2 separate regions of the Homo sapiens genome follow, and region 2 is linked to region 1. Evidence: promoter capture Hi-C in 16 types of primary human blood cells and fetal thymus (Javierre and others, 2016). All regions are on one chromosome and are shown on one strand. Each heading gives the region's core, a stretch centred on a gene start or on the middle of the fragment in contact. The rest is flanking DNA. Distances are from core to core; before and after follow the strand shown.

What was found. The method cuts DNA at HindIII sites, captures the fragments that hold promoters and counts their contacts. A CHiCAGO score of 5 or more calls a contact.
Region 2: a contact is called between a fragment that was not itself captured here and the fragment with the promoter of CUL2 in region 1, in 1 of 17 cell types (activated CD4 T cells). The highest score is 6.6, in activated CD4 T cells.

The regions. Positions count from the first base shown.
Region 1 is chr10:35,088,789-35,091,796 of GRCh38, reverse strand. CUL2 (cullin 2) reads left to right here and starts at 1,456. Exons shown (of 21, transcript NM_003591.4): 1 at 1,456-1,618. RefSeq lists an enhancer at 1,036-1,175 and silencers at 1,094-1,282, 1,336-1,535, 1,556-1,685. The HindIII fragment of the contact is 6,346 bases long and covers 1,120-3,008 here.
Region 2 is chr10:35,619,691-35,622,698 of GRCh38, reverse strand. No RefSeq gene overlaps it. Among named protein-coding and RNA genes, the nearest start is that of GJD4-AS1, 13 kb to the right of the region's middle. The HindIII fragment of the contact is 4,542 bases long and covers 1-3,008 here.

The DNA.
Region 1 (3,008 bases), core at 207-2,706:
TACAAAAAATTAGCCGGGTGTGGTGGCGGGCTTCTGTAATACCAGCTACTCGGGAAGCTGAGACAGGAGAATCACTTGAACCCGGGAGGTGCAGGTTGCAGTGAGCTGAGATTGTGCCGCCACTGCATTCCAGCCTGGGTGACAGAGCAAGACTCTGTATCCAAAAAAAAAAAGGACCAGACATATTGCATTGTTAACAAACTAGTTGTTAACCTTATGACCTCTGTAAAGGTCTCAGGGATTTCCAGAGGTCTGGGGACCACACTTTGAGAATCACTAGATTAAAAGGGGGAAAACATGGGAGGAAAAAAAGGTCACATAATGGAAACATACTGTTGGATTGAATTTCGTATATAAAAACCCTTTACTGAAATAAAGAGTAGAGACTTCAAGTACCAAGAGAAGCAGATTAGAAGAGGAGGAAGGCTCTAGGGACTGATCAGGTCTGGAGGCAGGGTTTTAAATGGGCCTTGAAGGGTTCGTGCAGTTTGGAAGGAAGGGATGGGAGGGAAAAGCTTGCTGAATCGTATAAATGAACAAGACCCTGATGGTGAGCTCTTGAGGATATGAAAGGCAAAAAGCACTAAGGCCGGGCTTTTGTTCCTCTGTGGCCCTGCATATATGAGGAGGTGATGAGTAATTCTATATTTTTATCAGCTTTACCGTTTAAAACTCCAAGGGAGGAAAACCCTTCAAACTGATAGGCTTGGGGCTTGGTGAAGGTGGGGTATTAGTGAAAAAGATGTGAAGTTTCTTTATCGAAAATACATGTATGTCCAAGAAATTCTCTGTAGATAAAAACTAACAAGAAAAAGAGTTTGTCAGAGAGGAAAAGTAGTTTTGCTAATTTATTTTTGATCATTTGCAAAGCCCATGGAAGTGTGTGGCAAGAGGATTGTGGTGTCTTAGGATATTCACATAGGTCTGAAACAAGGAAAACATACTTCTGTTGAAAGCACCATTCCAACATATTGTTATTAGCAGTCCCTGAACTAACGGGTAGTGGGTGGGTACTGTGTCCATCAGCTCAGCGAACCGCAATTGCCTCATTGACAGCAAGCCCAGCAAGGAATCACTTGGAATATTAATTTCCGTGGCCTTTCGCAATCACACGAAGCTTGGCTCCCTGCGCTTGCCGTAACGCGGCCTGTACCATTGCTTTCCGGGTGGCGGGGGGGATTTGGCAGCAGCGGAAGAAGGAGACCGGAGGGTGTGTGTTGGGCAAAGCCGGAGGCAGAGGAGGACGATTGTTTTACGGATCCCGTGATCGGCCCGTCCTTCTCCCCTTTCCCCCCCTCCCTACCGCCCCTGTCCCGCCGGGGAGCGGCGGCGGCCTTGGACTTTGCTGTCTTTCCTCGCGGAGACAGGTGAGTGTCGGCGCGCGGGCTCCCCGGGCTTCGCTCCCCACCCCCCGCGTCTCCGGGGCCGGTGGCGGCGGCCGGCCGGGGAGGCGGCCTCGGCGCACAGTAATGGCAGCGCTGTGAGCAGGGGAACGCGAGCTGACAGCCGCCGCCGCCGCCGCCTCCGCCCACCTTCCTCGCCGGGGCTTCGTCTTTCACTCCTTCGGGCTGCCTCCCCCTCCCCTTGTCCCCTGCCCCTTGCCCTGCTTCTGCAGAAGGTAACCCCGCTGAGGGTCGGGGAGCCGGGCTGCAGGCGCCGGGAAACTTCCCTTCCCGGTTAATGGGTGGCGGGGCTGGGGCGGAGGAGAGGAGTTGGGGGCGACGAGGTGTGGGGAGAGGGATGAAAGGGGGAGGCCCGGGAAGATGGTATCCTGTAAGTGACCTCGGCTCCCCAGAGCGCTGACCCGTAAGCCCTGCCACCCCCTGGACTGGATCCCGGGCCTCCCCAACCCGATCTTGGCCGCCTCTCCCGCGGCCCCATTTTCCTTCGAAGGAGGGAAGGTGAGAGTGCGTGTATTCTTCTACATATTTACGTGCTCACACGAATACACAACTCTGTGTGTTTGTGTGTGTGTGTGGGGGGGGGCATCTCATGCATCCTTACCCCGAGTGTTTTCACTTTTGTTTCCGCAGACTGCAAAGATTGATAGCTTTGGGGAGGAGTATCCTACGTGCATGCTAGACTTCTTGTCTCAACCCTTAGGGTCTGGTGAAATAAGATCCTCACACGCTTTCTAGCACTTGCTTACCCTCTAGAGAGTCTGGACCATTCCCTACCATTACGTGCATGCAAATAAAACATCTGTGAATTGCAGACTGTTATTAATGTTAAGTCCACATCTTTGCCCCATGGATTAATATTAACAGTTGAAGGCCAGTACCCTGGGCGTTTAAATTTTGAAGATAAGATGCAAAATATTAACGTTCGCTATAGATTGTGACTGTTCAACATAAACGTCTTTGAACTAGACCTGGCCAAGCCTACCTTCGTAGTAAAGTATCGGAAATAATCACTTTGATCTGATTGACAACTGACTACATAATAATCGCTTAAAAACATTCAAAACACTGTTGCCTACCCTTTAGAATCTTACATTCCTTTTCAAGACAGACACATGAACAAATGAGCTATACTTTGCTTCTTTTGCCCTTATACAGTATCTGGAAGATCCTTCCAAAAGAGTCGCGTGAGATAAGAGAAGTACACAGTTTTTTTGTTTTGAGATGGAGTTTTGCTCTTGTCACCCAGGCTGGAGTGCAGTGGTGCGATCTCGGCTCACTGCAACCTCCGCCTCCCGGGTTCAAGCAATTCTTCTGCCTTAGCCTTCCATGTAGCTGGGATTACTGGCATGCGCCACCATGCCCGGCTAATTTTGTATTTTTAGTGGAGATGGGGTTTCACCATGTTGGCCAGGCTGGTCTTGAACTCCTGACCTCAGGTGATTCGCCTGCTTAGGCCTCCCAAAGTGCTGGGATTACAGGCCTGAGCTACTGCGCCCAGCCCACAGTGTTTTGAATTACTTGTTTTTTTCAATTGCTGTTTATGAGTTGGGGGAACATTTCTACAATGTGCATGCACATAGCGTGGGAAAAATTCCTTTTCAATTG
Region 2 (3,008 bases), core at 311-2,810, 530 kb before region 1:
TCATCCTGCAATGAACAGCCTCGTTTGCTCCCATCTTTGCCCCTTTCCTCTGAAGGAGTCTTCTCCCTTCTCCTCAAAGCCAATCCCGTGACCTGTGTTCTCTGTTGGATCCTCTGTCAACTCTCGCAACTATTCTGTTATTGCTTCCCTCTTTACCTTCTGCCTACAAACCTTCCCTGTGTGCTGCCTCTGCCTCATGGGCTTTGCATTTCTCTTATATCAAAACTAATTCAGGCTGGGCATGACGGCTCACTCCTTTAATGTCAACACTTTGAGAGGCCAGACAGGAGGCTCACTTGAGGCCAGGCGTTCAAGACCAGCCTGGGCAACATAGCAAGACTCTGTCTGTACAAAAATTTAAAAGTTTTTAAAAATTAGCTGGGCATGGTGGCATGCACCTTTAGTCCTAGTTACTCAGAAGGCTGAGGTGGGAGGATCACCTGAGTCTGGGAGGTTGTGGCTGCAGTGAGCCAAGATCATGCCACTGCACTCCACCCTGAGTAACAGAGTGAGACCCTGTCTCTAAAAATAAATACATAAAGTAAAATAAAATAAACTCAAAAAATTGTTGATTGAACACCTATCCGGTCCTGACACTACACCATATATGGAGGCTACAGTGGGAACTTGGACTTTGCAGAACATCCCCTATTCACAGTTTCCTCAACTGTACATGGAGTCCCACTATAAAACTGTGCCTGTCTCAAAGGGGTGTGATGATGGGTTAAATTAGAAAGTCCAGACAAGGCACAAAACGCTGCCTGGTACATGGTAGGTCCTCATTTCATGTTAGAATGCAGCGAGAAATACAGTAAGGTAAACAGGAAGTCAGGAAACGGGGTGGAATGTGGTGGGCAGAGAGAAGTCCCCATCGAATGTCTTCTCTGTCCATAGGAAGCGAGGCCACCTGCCAAGGTGTGAGAAGAGCAGAAGAGGCTTACATGGATGATGGGAAGCTCGGACAGTGAATGAATTAGGAACATGGAGGTGAGGATACAGTGCTGGAGGCCCTCCTGGAGACCACAAATGTAGAATGGCACCAATTTGGTGCTTGGACCATTGTCTCCAAAAAGGCCAGCCACTGGGCATCCCCTCCAGCCACACGTTCTTCCCAGCACTTGACGAGCTGTCCCTGGAACGCCTTGTGTATTTGCGTCTAGAGAGTAAAATTGGCAGCCGGGCACAGTGGCTCACACCTGTAATCCCAGCACTTTGGGAGGCCAAGGCAGGAGAATCACTTGAACCCGGGAGGCAGAGGTTGCAGTGAGCCAAGATTGCGCAACTGCACTCCAGCCTGGGAGACAGAGCGAGACTCTGTCTCAAAATAAAATAAAATAAAATAAAATAAAATAAAATAAAATAAATATATGTATATATGTATGTGTATATATTAGCATGCTGAAATTTAAACAATATTTCCCAAAAAAGTAAATTTAACCTGGCAACAACAACAGAAATGGAAACAACAGCGTAAGGATGGTATTTAAAAAAAAGAAAAATCCATTTAACACCAACTCATTCATGCTTACAAAAATAGCGTTAAGTAAATAAGTAACTCTGCTCTTTCCATCAAATAAGATAGTGTAGGACACCAGAATGTTCCCCTCTCGGAATGACATAGAAATACAAGGGAGGGACACGGGGGTCCAGGGAAAGGCTAATTTGGTCAGAGAAGGAGGCAGCTCTGTAGGCTCACCTGGGGCAGATCCAGACGGTCCATCCCTCAGAGGTTGTAGGTGGAAACCTGGGTGGTATCAGGAGAGGAAACACAGGACAAGAGCTTGGAGTTTAACAGAAATATGTCTGCACAGGCTGGGCGTGGTGGCTCACACCTGTCATCCCAGCACTTTGGGAGGCTGAGGCAGGAGGATCACTTGAGGTCCGAAGTTCCAGACTAGCCTGGCCAACATGGAGAAACCACATCTCTGCTAAAAATACAAAAATTAGCTGGGCATGGTGGTGGACGCCTGTAATCCCAGCGACTCAGGAGGCTGAGGCAGGAGAATCACTTGAACTTGGGAGGCAGATGTTGTAGTGAGCCAAGATTGCACCACTGCACTTCTGCCTGGGCAACAGAGCAAGACTGTGTCTCAAAAAAAAAAAAAAAAGGGAGAAGAAAAGAAAAGAAACAGAAAAGAAACATGTCAGCACAGATATTTGAGAACCTCAGGAACACCATAGATCTGCTGTTTGTCCCACTGACCTGGTCACCACACAGGGTAAATAAATCAGGGCAGTTTTGCTGTAAGATCTGCTTCTTCAGCTGGAAAACAAAAGAATTCACCCCCCTGGGAGTGATCGTAGGGATCCTGCTATCCTTCCTGATGCCACCTGCTTTCCCTGTCCCTTAGGGTCACCAAGGAGGTGTGGGGTTGTCTGAAGCAGAGGGAGACTGGGCAGCCACACCCAAGGACTCGAAAGCGGCTCTGTGTGATGATTCCACAATCTGTCTCCAGCCAAACTCCTCTCTGTGCTCGGATCCAGCAGTCCAACTTCCTACTCAGCATCTCCTCCAAAATACCCCAAAGGCAACTTCACCTTGACATTTCTACACCAGAAACTGACCGGGCGTGGTGGCTCATGCCTGTAATTCCAGCACTTTAGGAGGCCAAGGCAGGAGGATTACTCGAGCCCAGGAATTCAAGACCAGCCTGGGCAACATAGCAAGACCCCATCTCTAAAAAAAAAAAAAAAATTAAAAACTAGCTGGATATGGTGGTGCATGCCCATAGTCTCAGCTACTCAGGAGGCTGAAGTGGGAGGATCACGTGTCCCCAGGAGTTCAAGGCTGCAGTGAGTTATGGTCATACCACTGCACTCAGCCTGGGTGACAGAGCAAGACCCTGTCTCTAAAAAATAATGGTAATAAAATAAATTGTAAAAATAAAAAAAAACAACAGAAACTATCAGCAATCCATCTCCTCCTCCAGGGTGTTCTACTTGGGTGAATATGACTATATTAGTCTGTTCTCTCACTGTTAATAAAGACATAGCCCAGACTGGGTAAT